Linked DNA regions of Homo sapiens: region 2 is linked to region 1. The links are contacts of gene promoters, found by promoter capture Hi-C in human tissues and cell types (Jung and others, 2019). All regions are on one chromosome and are shown on one strand. The core of a region is centred on a gene start or on the middle of the fragment in contact, and the rest is flanking DNA. Distances in the headings are between cores, read along the strand shown. Region 1 holds the start of TPM1 (tropomyosin 1). Region 2 has its middle 65 kb from the start of TPM1.

Region 1 (6,084 bases), core at 1-2,500:
AGGGGGGTGCAGCAGGCAGCGTGATCCCGAAGGGGAGGGGTGTGGGTGCACAGAACCAGAAGGACAGGGACAGCGGGAGAGACAGAGGGAAAGACAGGGAGGGAGAGAGAGAAAGAGAAAGAGTTAGCCATTCGTGCGCCACGCCGTGCCGCGCGCCCCGGGTACCTTGGCGGCGGCCTCTTCGGCGGCCAGGAGGCTGTCCTCCGCCTTGTGCAGCTCCTCCAGCACCCGGTCCCGCTCGTCCTCCGACACCCGCAGCAACTTCTCCTTGGCCGCGATGTCCTCCTCGAGCTGGGGGCAGCGGCGGGCGGGCGCGGGCGGCCGGCACGGACCGGGTGTTAGACACACACAACACACGGGCGTCGGGTTGGCTGGGGCCCCTCGGGCTCGGGGCGCCGCCGAGTTGGAGTGCAAAGGACCCGAGGTAACTTCCTCTTTACCCGAGCTGGAACCGCTCCGCGGCTCACCCCGCACACCCACCTGCCCTGGGACGAGACTCCTGCCGAGGTCTCAGCGGGCTCAAGTCCACTACTTGGGGACACAGAAGAACGCCACTGCTGGCCTGGCTTTCGGGCTGTAGCCTCCATTCCGCCCCATCTTTGTTCTTAGGTAACAACTCCAGGACTCCCTTCTCCTCCCCAAGTTTAAGGTTCCTTTCTCCCCAGTCAAAAGTCAACGAACTTCTAACACTTGAGTTACTCGACCCCCTTTCTCCATCCCTCGCCCTTCCTTCAAACGTCCCCAGGAACCGGGTGTCCTCCTCCCTCCCCCAAACTGATTCCCAGTCCTGAGAATAAAGCGCCTCTAGGACTTGATTTCGCGGGCCATGGGAACCAGAGAAGGGAAATAAGCGTCCTCAGACCAGACTAAGTTAGACTAAGCCTGGCTCTTGCGTTTCCCTTCCTTCTTTCCAGACGCGCGCCCTGGCCGCCCTGGGTGGTGGTGGGGGTAGGGTGGTGGCTCCCCGAGTCCTCGGGGTGGGGATCCAGCCGGGGGTGCCAGGCTCGAGTCCCGGCGCTCTGGGCGCGGGCGCAGGGCCGGGGAGGCGCAGACCTGCTTGCTCCTGTCTTCCGCCGCCTTCTTGTCGGCCTCCGCCTGCTCAGCTCGATCCAAGGCGTTCTCCTTGTCGAGCTTCAGCATCTGCATCTTCTTCTTGATGGCGTCCATGGTGGCGGCGGCGAGGGGCCCTGGGGCTGCAGCAGGAGCGGCGGGGCGAGCGCGCGGTCGGGCGGAGGAGCGGGAGTGCGAGCGCGGAGCCGCCTGCTTCTCCCAGATATGTACTTTCCCAAGGGGGCGACCGCATTCCTCAAGACAGCCAATACTTTTTTGGAAAAGCTTTTTTCTCCTGCCCCCCTTCCTCCTCTCCTCCCTCCGCCCCGTGCCCCCTCCCCGCTCCTCCCGCGGGGGCCGCTCGCCCATTCGCTGCCGGCCGCCGGCCTCCCAGTTGACGGTGGATATGACTATATATGGGGACCCGAGCCGCCGAGGCGGCGGCCGGAGAGGCCGCCCTGTTTCTAAACCTGCGCGCCAGGGAGAGGGCGTTGGGGCCGAGCCGGGGCCGAGGCGCAACCCTCCGCCCTCCGCGTGCCCTTCTCCCAGGGCCGGCACCCAGCCATTAGGGTCCCCAACCGAGCCCGCCCTGAGCTGCCGGAGGCCGGGAGAGCGCGGACCAGGTGGTGGATGCGCGTCGCCCCCCTGTGCCGTCCCCCGGCGCGCTTAGCCAAAGGCCCGGGGGCTTCCCAGCCGTGCTGCACCCCGCGTCAGGGTCAGTGCGCTCTCGGCACCCGCCAGCGCCTCCCCGGCAGCTCTCAGCCAGCCAGGTGTCATCCTGCGCGCTCACGCTCTGGAAACTCAACTGCAGCAGAGAAAGGGAGAACGTGGGAGAAAGCCTGGGGCGGCTCTTGAGACTTTCTCTGCGGGCGCGGGTCAGAGAGGCAGGGGGCGGCACAGCGACAGCACACGGAGTCTTGTTTTCTGCCTGCCCTTTCCCCCAGCGGAGGGACAGTCAAATACTTTAGGGACACAGGACTCAGTGGCGTACTTCTGTGCTTGCTGTGCAGTGCCTCCAAAAAGGTGTGCATGTGTGCGTGTGTGTGCGGGTGGCAGTCTAAGGGGAAAGAACATTGAGTTTAGACTCAGGCAATTTGGTCTGTGGTCTCTACTCTGCCACCAGCAACTGTGAGACCTTGTTTGCTGCCCGCGGCTTCCTCAACTTTAAATCCAGCGGGTAGATAATCCCCGAGGTCCCTCCAGATATAACTTGTTATCATTTTTCTTGCACTGATTTTAGGGAGTCGGCCTTCCATGTTAGATGCTTAGGTGCCAGGTTTCGGAAAACATGGGATCGGCGTTAACCTGGCTAAGTCATTGCATCCGCAGCCGCAACTCTGAGGAGGCTCTGCCGTGTGAGCTGTGCTTGGAAGGAGGAGGATTTCCCCCAACACTTCTTATTTTTAACTACTCCTCCCATCTCCCAAGGGGGAAAGGCTGCTTTTTTTCAGAGCTTCAGTGGGAGGGGAGGAGAGGGGGCTGCCCCCAAGCCCTGAGATCAGCTGAGGCAGGGTTGGTGAGGGTCTTGTTAATAGTCCCCACAGAATAATTCACAGTCTGTACTGCATGGTTACCAAATATTCCCCGGACGGTATCTGAGCAGATTAGGCAGGCCAAACAACTTGTAAGTCCTTCAGAGAATGATCAAATTCCTCTCCAAGATTTTATCGGGTTTCTTCCACTAACCTAACTGCCCAGGAGGGAAAAGATACACTGACCTAATGGTCAGAACATTAGATCTGACCATTAGCATAGGGGCTGCGTGGCACAGAAATTGACCAGAGCCCTTTAATCACGGTGTGTCAACCCAGCCACCGGAACAGTGACAAAGTTCCAGGCATGTGGACGATATCCAGATGCGTGGACTCCAGGGAGCTGACTCCCCAGGTTGGAGCTCAGCAGAGGAGGCAAGAATAGGGAGTTAGGAGTCAGTTCCAGGGATCCAGACCTGGCCTGGTCACTTCCTTGCAGTGTGACCTTAGCCATGTTACAATCTCTCTAAGCCTTTTTTCTCACTTATAAAAAGAGGCAACTGAACTAGAGAAACTCCTTGCGGGACCACATGTTACTGACTTTTCTTTTCTTACTGTGCCATATGTAGCCGAGGGACTCATTAAAGTTTCCTTAAATGAAATCATGCTACAAGCAATTTATTAAACACACGGTTGTTGAGTACCTGCTATATACTAGGCAGGTACTAGGCTCTGGAATCCAAAGAATGAGTAGCACAGGTCTATGTCCTCCAGGTGTTTGGCATGAGAAAGGTGTTAAGAATTCACACGAGGAAGAAATAGAAATGACTAGGTCAGAGCAGATGGGAAAAAATTCTCTGAAAAGGTGATGGCTTTTAAACTGATTTTAAAGGAAGGGTAGCAGTTAGCTAGAGAGGAGGGCCGTTGTATGCGCCAAGGAAAGAAAAAGGAATGTTTGGTGGTGGTTGGACAGTAGGATTTTGGGGGTGAATGGGGGCATGAGACTGGAAAGGAAGCTTGGGGCTGTATGATAAAGGGCCTTGAATTCCAGATTCAGACATTCAGACCTTATTGTGTAGTTTAAAGCCATCGATGTCTCTTCTTTTCACCTCTTCCTCTCCCAGACTCCCTCACCTAGGGCCTATATTCAGAGGTCGAAGCCTATGGTGTCAAAGTATGGAAATGGAGCTATACAACGCTAACTTTTAAAATCCCTTAGTACCACATCATTGATCTCTAGACTGATGGGTTAACATAGCAGGTCCTGAATTCAATCATTTCTTTTAACCCATGTTGAGATTCTGCCATGTGTCAGGCCCAAGTCAGCTTCATGGGCTATACCACCCATGACCTTTTTGTCACCAAGGGCTAAGACAAAGCTAGGACAAGCAAAACGTCATGACTTAAATAACACATTCTTCTGTAGTGAACAGGTCTCCTGGTCCTCTCCAGAGGTAGGCTGGACAGTCACAGGCTGTATGTAGTGTGTATCCCTGTTCTCTGGCTGATTGGCCACAACTCAAGGATGGATCTAAATACTAACCAGGGACTTGGCGTTGTGGCTTGTCAGGCAATGATGAACTGGGCCACTCAGCTTCTTTCATTGCAGTTTGAATTAAGGAACGTGAAAAATGGGAATCACTAGCCGTGGCTGCTGAAACAAAAAGGGATTGCAGTGTCGGGCTGGAAATGCCACGTGTAAAAGTGATTAAGGTTATTCACAATTTTTTAGGTTTTCTCCCCAGTCAATGTCGTGGTAGCATTGTACATCCCACCCAATTAAGTTGGCTGTGGCCATTTGACTTGCTTTGGCCAAGGAAACGTGAGCAGAAATGACTTCTGGTGGATACTTAAAGAGCTCACGACTAACCATGTTCATTTTTCAAGACTGTGGCTGCTCTGTCATTGTGGGTTTTCAAGTGGCTCCCTCTTTCCCCCCAACTAACCCTTGGTGGACATGTAGTGAGAATAAGATATAAATCTTTGTTATTTTAGGCCACTGAGATTGGGGGTTGTTTGTTACTGAAGCATAACTAGCTTCTCCTGACTAATACAGCACAATAGGCATGCATCAGCTAAGTTATGAAAAAGCAGAGAAGTGATTATAGAGAAAGAATGAAGCAGGCATATCAAGATAAACAGAAGCACCATTTAGAGAAAGAGATTGGGAGAATATGACCAAATTTCAGTTCCAGGGGTCCTTATAATAACCCCCTGTATTTCTTGAGGTTACATAAGCGAGTCTATATTCCTTGAAAGTAAAAAGCTTACCAAATCATGGTGGCATGACAGCCTGCACAACATTCAACATTCTTGGCCTAGAGGCTCTACGTGATCACCACGAACATGCTTGGAATTTCCAGATTTCTCCAGTGCCTGGTATTCAGTCATTTCTCAATGAATGTTTGTTGAACAATTTTTTTTATGACTGACAAGTCCAGCTTTCTTACTGACTTACAAGAAAGTCTGGGAAGGTAAAGTAACAAATCTAGGTTCAAAAGATCTTGTTTCCATTCAAAATATGGGCTCTGTGTCTTATTTCATGAAGAATGAATATAAGTATTGTGATAGGGTAAGACAAATGTCTCCAAATATTTATTGGACACCTTTTGTGTGCAAGACATTTAGGGCTTATGGGATCCAGGGAAGCAGACAAAAGACATGGATCTTTTTCTGTAGGAAAAGTGTCTATGTATGATGCAGGGAGAACCCTCTCTTTGGGAGTCATTTAATATGTATTTCCCATGGCATGACCATCAGCTCAGTTGGTCACCTGGGGCCCTCTATAGTTATGAGGATCACATATCTCGGGTTTTCTAGGAAAGCTTTAATATTAAATATGCTGCCTTTTTCCTTCCATAAAACACTTGTATGTGTCATACTACATTTATCAATATTTGGTTACAAAGGAGAGTCAACATGAGCATCATTTCCCAATGTGACACCTTTAACAGGAATGCCCACTTGAATATGTACATCAGGGTTTGTTTGTTTGAAAAAACAAAATGAAAACCTCATTACCTGATAGTCACCCCTTGTTTAACAGCAATAGCCCTGCCGGTGTACTGTGACTCCCCCAGAGTCAACAGTGCTGACTGAAGCAATTAAGGGAAAGTGAAGAATCTATAATTAAATGGAGAGACGACTGCTTCTTCGTCTCTTTTGGAATGCAGCGTTTTATGCTCACGACTCAGTGTCCCTGGAACAAGATACGGCATGCTCTCCTCAAACACTGGGAGTTGTGTTTCCCAAGGGTTTGTGATGCTACCATCAAGGCCTCACAGAAAATATGCTATGCTTCCTGGGGGCGGGGGGTGGGGCTGGTTTGGATCTCTGAGAAAGGTCTTTAGGCCATTTTCAAGGCGTGCCTGCCTTTATTGTTTAGTAACACACAGCTGGTCCTGATTCTTTGGAGAGGCCCTTGAGCACGCTTATTACCTGGAATGTTTGCATGGGCAAAATGATTGTCCCAGTACAAAAAAAAAAAGGCATAGGAGTTTTCCTGCCTTACCTCTTATTGTCTGTCTCTCAACAGTAGCAACTCAGTGTAGATTTAATCAAG
Region 2 (6,454 bases), core at 1,371-3,870, 65 kb after region 1:
GAGCAAGTGGGAGGTGAGTCTAGCCACATCATTTCAGAAGTTAGGCTGTGAAGGACATAAAAGAAATACGACAACAGCTGAAGGAGAACAGAGGATAAGGAAAGACTTAAGATGGGCCAGAATGGGAAGGACAGAAACATCTTTAAATGCTTCAGGTGGAGGCAGTGGAAAGGACGTAGAAAAAACCTGGAAGGCCATATGCCTACATGGTAACAGCGGTAACCTGTGGGTAGTGTAGTCCAGAGGTTCCTGAATGTTCAAAAACAGGCTGAATGATGTTTGTTGGAGTTTTGGTATTGTCTGTTTTATTGCTACAAAATTCTTTAAAATATGTCCATTTACATGTAACATCACACAAGTATGCAGAGATTTGATAAATGGAAGCATTCCTCTGCCTGCCTACATTGGACGGCAGGGAGGTTTGCCCGAAGCATCGTGGTGATGAATACCAGTGGTGCCCAGCATCCAAGATGGCCCCAGTGAGCCACAGCTCCTGGCTTTCAAGGCTTTGTATGAAAGCCCTCGCCACATTGAATCAAGGATGTCTGTGTGACCAACAGAGTATGATAGAAGTGACAATTAGGACCAAGGCTAGGTCGTAAAGGGCATTGCCATTTCAGCCTCAGTCTCCTGCATTGCTCACTCTGGAGAAAGCCAGTACCATACCATAAAGACACTCAAGAAGCCCTGTAGAAAGACTCATACGGAGAGAAACGGAGGCCTCTGGCCAACAGTCAGCACCCACTTGCCATTCCTGTGAGTGAGCCATCTCAGAGTGGAGCCTCTAATCCCAGCAAGCACTTACATGCAGCCCCAGCAGACCCTTGACAGCACTTCAGGAGGGACCCTGAGCCAGCACCTCCAGCTGAGCCTCTCTAAATCCCTGCCCCACAGAAATCAGGAGAAATTTCCAATGATTAGTATGGAAGCTGCTACGTTTTGGGGTGATTTGTTATGCAACAATTAACTGTTGTGGGCACCCTACATGTGTTGTGGGGCCCATGGGAGCGTCATCCACTAGACAACGGTCTGGCTATAACAGCATTTAAAAATAGAGGTACCAATTGTGTGTTCGATTTAAACAAGAAGTCATGTGCTCCGGCATCCTTCTGTGTGAGGAGCACAACCACTCCTACCACATCACACACACTCAAATTGATAACGCTACCTGTTTTGTAGATAATATTTAGTATGTGAGTGTTGTGTACGACTCAAGTATGAGTCAAGCATATGTGGAGGTTTTCAGATGCTATAGTTTTAGGATTTAATTTTGGAGGAAGTGAACTTGAACAGTTTCAAACTGCATAATTAATGACATTCCATTTTCATGACAACTACTAATTAATCTTGCCTGTTATCATAAACTTTTAGCCTGTGGGAGTTTGGGTCTTCCTAGCTCACATGGGAGAACAAATTGTGTTAGACTTTCATTTTGTTTTTTTAATTGTGAAATGACTGGGGTTGAGATAAAGTGGTGGGAAGGGGTGGAGTGGGTGTGCTCCCTGGGAACCATTGGACCATTCATTTAGCACCTGGGTTTATCAAACCCCCTAAAGTCAGGGGTTAGCTCTTTCACATCTGCCCCATGGCCAGCACAGTGCCTGGCACATAATGCTGGTTCAGTAAGTATTTGTTGAATAAATACTAATTCTGCTCCTTTCCTTGTTCTTTCATTCTACTCGTAGAGTTTAATAAAAACCCTGTGGAAGGTTTGGTATGTTTCACCTCTACAGAGAAGGAATGAGAAAAAGTGTTTCACATTTCTCTGGGGTCAGTATGACAGGACAGTGCTATCTCCCTTCCCTTCTCCCCTCCTCATGCCCTGGAGCAGTGGACCTGGAGGATAAGAGCGGGGTTCCTCTCCTGGACCCCTTCCCGCTCTGTGAGCACCAGTTGAGGAGTGTGTCAACAACAGCAATAGTGGCAGAGACTTGGGGGTGTCTGGAATATCCAAGGAATGGTCTTGTGTGTAGAAGTGAAGTGGCTTCACGAGTGAGACCCATTCTCATTCAATGGGGCCCTTTTGGTTTCATTGTGTGGCCTAGGGTTAGAACATGGCAGCTGGGAGACACTTTGATTTCCCAAGCAAGCTTGGCCAAGTCTCCCTCTGTCCTCTGAAGAGGAGGCAAATCTCCCTTCAGGGCAGTCAGTGGATTTGCGCCTGGCCCTGGCGAATGTGGTCATTTCCGGAAGGAAACAAGAATAATTTTCCACTCCCACATTCTGGCCACTGCAGGGCAGGGAAACCACTTGCCAAGTCAGGCAAAGACATTCCTGGCTCATCCTGGGGCATTGTTTGAGCTCATCATCTGAACCTGATGACAAGAGACAGGAATTGTTTTTGTGAGACTCGTGGGTCAGGGAGCTTTGCTGGTTCAGAGAGAGGATTGAGGTCATGCGACCAGGCAGGCTACCATGGCCACCAGCAGCTCTTTAACTTCCATGATGACTCGTAGATAAGCCTGGAGAGATGGATGGCTGCAGACTGGCAGGAACACTTGTCCTGGATTTGGGTAGGCCAGGGACACCAGGTTGCTGTTGCTGGAATACTTGGAACAAAAGCACTTGTTTCTGAAACCAGATATCTTATCATAACCAGCTCTTGCCTCTCCATTTATAAAGGATGGGGTCAGCTAGACTTGGGAGAGGACAACATGACACAGACATTAAAACAATTGTGTGTCCAGACCTGCCCAAAGGCTGTGGGCGAGTTGGCAAAGTGTGTTTCTGGTGCCCTCAGGTGCCCCTCTGTGGAGCTCATTTTGAGCCCACAGATGCCCCGTGCTTACTCCCTCCTCTGCTCCATCAGAATTTGTTTCAGTAAAGGATTTGATATCAGTCATGCACACTATAGTGGAATTAAAGCCATTTAAGCCTTTTCTCAGAGTGTGGCTCTCATGGCTTAAAAGGCAATCTACTATGATTAATCAAAGGCCACAGTACAAACCTTACTTAATTCAAAGAAATTCTAGTTTTTTGCTACTTTAGAAAAAATGAATTAAACAGTTTTTACTTAAAAAAAAACTTACAAGGGATGTTAATTAACTTTTTAATCTTGTAACTTTGGGAAGTAAGTTGGACAATTATTATTATTATTTTTAGAGATAGGATCTCAGTCTGTCACCAATGCTGGAGCGCAGTGGTACGATCATAGCTCCCTGTAACCTCAAACTCCTGACTCAAGCGATTCTTCTGCTTCAGCCTCCTAAGTAACTAGGTCTACAGCCATATACCACCATGTGGAGCTACATTTTTTTTTTTTCGTAGGAACGAAGTCTTGCTATTTTGCCAGGCTGGTCTCAAACTCCAAGCCTCAAATGATCCTCTCGCCTTGGCCTCCCAAAGTACTGGAATCACAGGTGTGAGCCATCATGCCTGGCATGGACAACTATTTTTGCCCCTATGTTGCAGGGAGGAAACTAAGGCAGAGAGCACAAATGATGTGCACAAGCTCCACAATGAATTAATGAGCTGGCATTAGCATGAAGGCCTCTGACTCAGGCACCAACGTCTTTCCAGGGACCCTATAGTCCCATGTAGGCCAAAGAAAGCTCCATACACCTCCCCCCTGCAGGTGACAAGTGCTCCACGCCTAAGTATCATTTAGCCCACGTAACAGTCCTAGGAGCTAGGGACAGTGCCTGCACTCACAGATATAGGCATGGGGGCTCAGAGAATTTTTTAAATTTTTAAATTTTTTGTGGGTACATAGTAGGTGTATATGTTTATGGGGTAATGAGAGATTTTGATATGCAATGCATAATAATCACATCAGGATAAATGGTAAGCAACTTGTCCAATTGCTTACAACCAGAAAGAGGCAGCATGAGAATTTAGTCCAGGTCTCTTGAGCTCCCAACAGGGCTCTTTGCTTGTAGCGGGTCGTTTAGAGAGTCCCCAGACCCCTCTCAGCATCTGAGCAGAGAGGGGTAGGAATGACGCACGAGGCCATAGCTTCCAGGCCTTTAGCTCTGGGGGAATAGTTGGTAAGGGGCTCCTGGGACTTTTCCAAGTCTCCAAGGCACTGGGAGTTCCCACGATGTGAAGATCTGCTGAGTTGGCTGAAAAATGTAAATAATGCACTTTTGGCTTTTTGAAGCCACATTCCATTTTAGTGATTTATCATCTTATAAAGGCAGAGAAGGGCAAAAACAAAATATGGGAATAAGTGATTTCCTATAGGGAGGAGGAGACTAGTCCCTGCTATGTTGTGTATTTATATTGAGTGTCAGATGCAATTCTTCTCCTGAATGTTCAGGAGAGGGGGTCTGATTCTCTGAATTCTTCCTCTGTGCTGTCATGAGACAAGGTGTCTGGTACAATTAAGAAAGGGCTTCAGTGTCTACTGCTGACTCCCCAGCCCCCAACCCTCTCCCCACCTCCATGAGCCTGTTAATTAGAAAGGAAAGGTCACAGCCTCTCCAGCAAAGCTGCCAGCAATTCATTGAAATACTCAAAGAATTTCTCCCAGTTCATCTACTGTCGTACACTCATTCATAAAACATTCACCAAGCATCTGTTTGTATGAGATGTCATGTTACATACACGTGTAGATTTATATATACACACATGTATATAATATATATAATGTATACATCTTATATGTATACATGTAATATATATGTAATATAATATGATAATATGAATATATGACATATTAAATATGAATTTATATATGAATATGTTATGTGCATATTCATATTATAAATATGTAGTATATAAATATATTCCATATACTTATATATGTTATATGTATGCTATATATACATATATGTATATACATAGGATTACATATGTATGTATTCATATAAATATGTATATATATTATATACACATAGTAATAAGCTAATATTTGGTGACACTTTCTGTGTCCCCAGGCACCATTCCAAGAAATTTACCTTATAACTCACCTCAGCCTAATACTTGACCCCATGAGGTAGGTATTTTATAATCCTTCATTTACAGATTAGAAAAACGAGGCACAGAGAGAGATAAAATAGCTTGGCCAAGATGTCATAGAGGGTTGAACGCAGTCTGCCTGAGTTCTCTCACTGAGTCTGCCTGTAGTGCTCTCACCCATCACAGAATGCCATCTCCAGGAAGACGAGGCAGTCGTACAGAGGTAGGAACAAAGGCCTAGGGAGTGCGGAGAAGGGCGGGGCCGTCTGCCAGGGAGAGGCCTGTGGTGAGAGGAGTTTTCACTGAGGAGATGGCTTGTGAACTGAGAGCTCATCTCAGCCTTGAAAATAATTGCCGGTGAGGTGCAGTGGCTCATGGCTGTCAAATAACACTTTGGGAGGTCTAAGTGAGAGGACTGCTTGAATCCAGGAGTTTGAGACCAGCCTGGGTAACATAGTGAGACCTTGTCTCTACAAACAAACACACAAAGAAAATAATTGCTTTTCTACCAGTATAATCAATAGTTGCTCCTTCATCTCTGCATGGGAATAGATTGACAACAATGATTGTAGCAGTAATAGTAGTAGTAGCAGCCGCAGCCATATTAGTATTAATCATGATGCCATGCTTGATTTGCCCAGCACTGTGACAGAGATCCAGGGCTTTAGATCTGCACGTTTCCCTGATAACTGAGGCCTATGCTTTCAAGACCAACATCTGTGCTGGCTCCAGTCTATGTTGTGTCTTTTTTTTTTTTTTTTTTTTTTTTTTGATAAAGTCTCGCTTTGTCGCCCAGGCTGGAGTGCAGTGGCGCAATCTTGGCTTACTGCAACCTCCGTCTCCCGGGTTCAAGCAACTCTCATGCCTCAGACTCCAAGTAGCTGGGATTACAGGTGTGTACCACCATGCCTGGCTAATTTTTGTATTTCTAGTAGAGACAGGGTTTCGCCATGTTGCCCAAGCTGGTCTCGAACTCCTGGCCTCAAGTGATCCTCCTGCCTCGGCCTCCCAAAGTGCTGGGATTACAGGCGTGAGCCACTGTGCCTGGCCTGTTATGTCTTTTAAGCCACTCAACAATTCTGTGAGGCAGCTCTTATTATTCCCATTGTCACATAAGAAAATGGAGGCTCCAAGGTGTTAGGTAACCTGTGTGCCTCAAGGGCCAGGTCAGGTTGGAGCTGGATTTGAATCCAGGTCTGCATGACCTTCCCACTTTACTTTGCTACCATTTTTAATTGATATCTTTCTAAAACATGCCTCACCTATACCTTCTTTAGTAAAACACAGCACAATGCAATGTAACCTTTTCTTTGTTGACTCAAGGCCACCCTTGTGAACACACTTGTGAAGCCATTGTCTGTGGTGTGCGTTTGAGCACTAAAAAAGGACCTAGCAGCCACCTGAGCCATCATTGACTTGGCCGAAACCGCTCTGCTGTTCTTTACCTGCCCAGAGATACTTTTAGGGATTATTAAATTGTATGGGGTGATGGAGTTCTATAGCACTATAAATAGCTCGGTCTGTTCTGTCCTTAGAGTTGTTGTTTTTTCAGATT

What was found. Contacts are between HindIII fragments. The study calls those that stand out against the background at their distance.
Region 2: a fragment that was not itself captured here is called in contact with the fragment with the promoter of TPM1 in region 1 in 4 of the 25 tissues and cell types used here (bladder, heart right ventricle, liver and 1 more).

What each region holds. Positions count from the first base shown.
Region 1 is chr15:63,037,913-63,043,996 of GRCh38, reverse strand. TPM1 (tropomyosin 1) reads right to left here and starts at 1,250. Exons shown (of 10, transcript NM_001018005.2): 1 at 1,054-1,250. The coding sequence starts at 1,167. RefSeq lists enhancers at 1-478, 1,392-2,306. The HindIII fragment of the contact is 3,976 bases long and covers 188-4,163 here.
Region 2 is chr15:62,974,388-62,980,841 of GRCh38, reverse strand. No RefSeq gene overlaps it. Among named protein-coding and RNA genes, the nearest start is that of TPM1, 65 kb to the left of the region's middle. The HindIII fragment of the contact is 9,871 bases long and covers 1-6,454 here.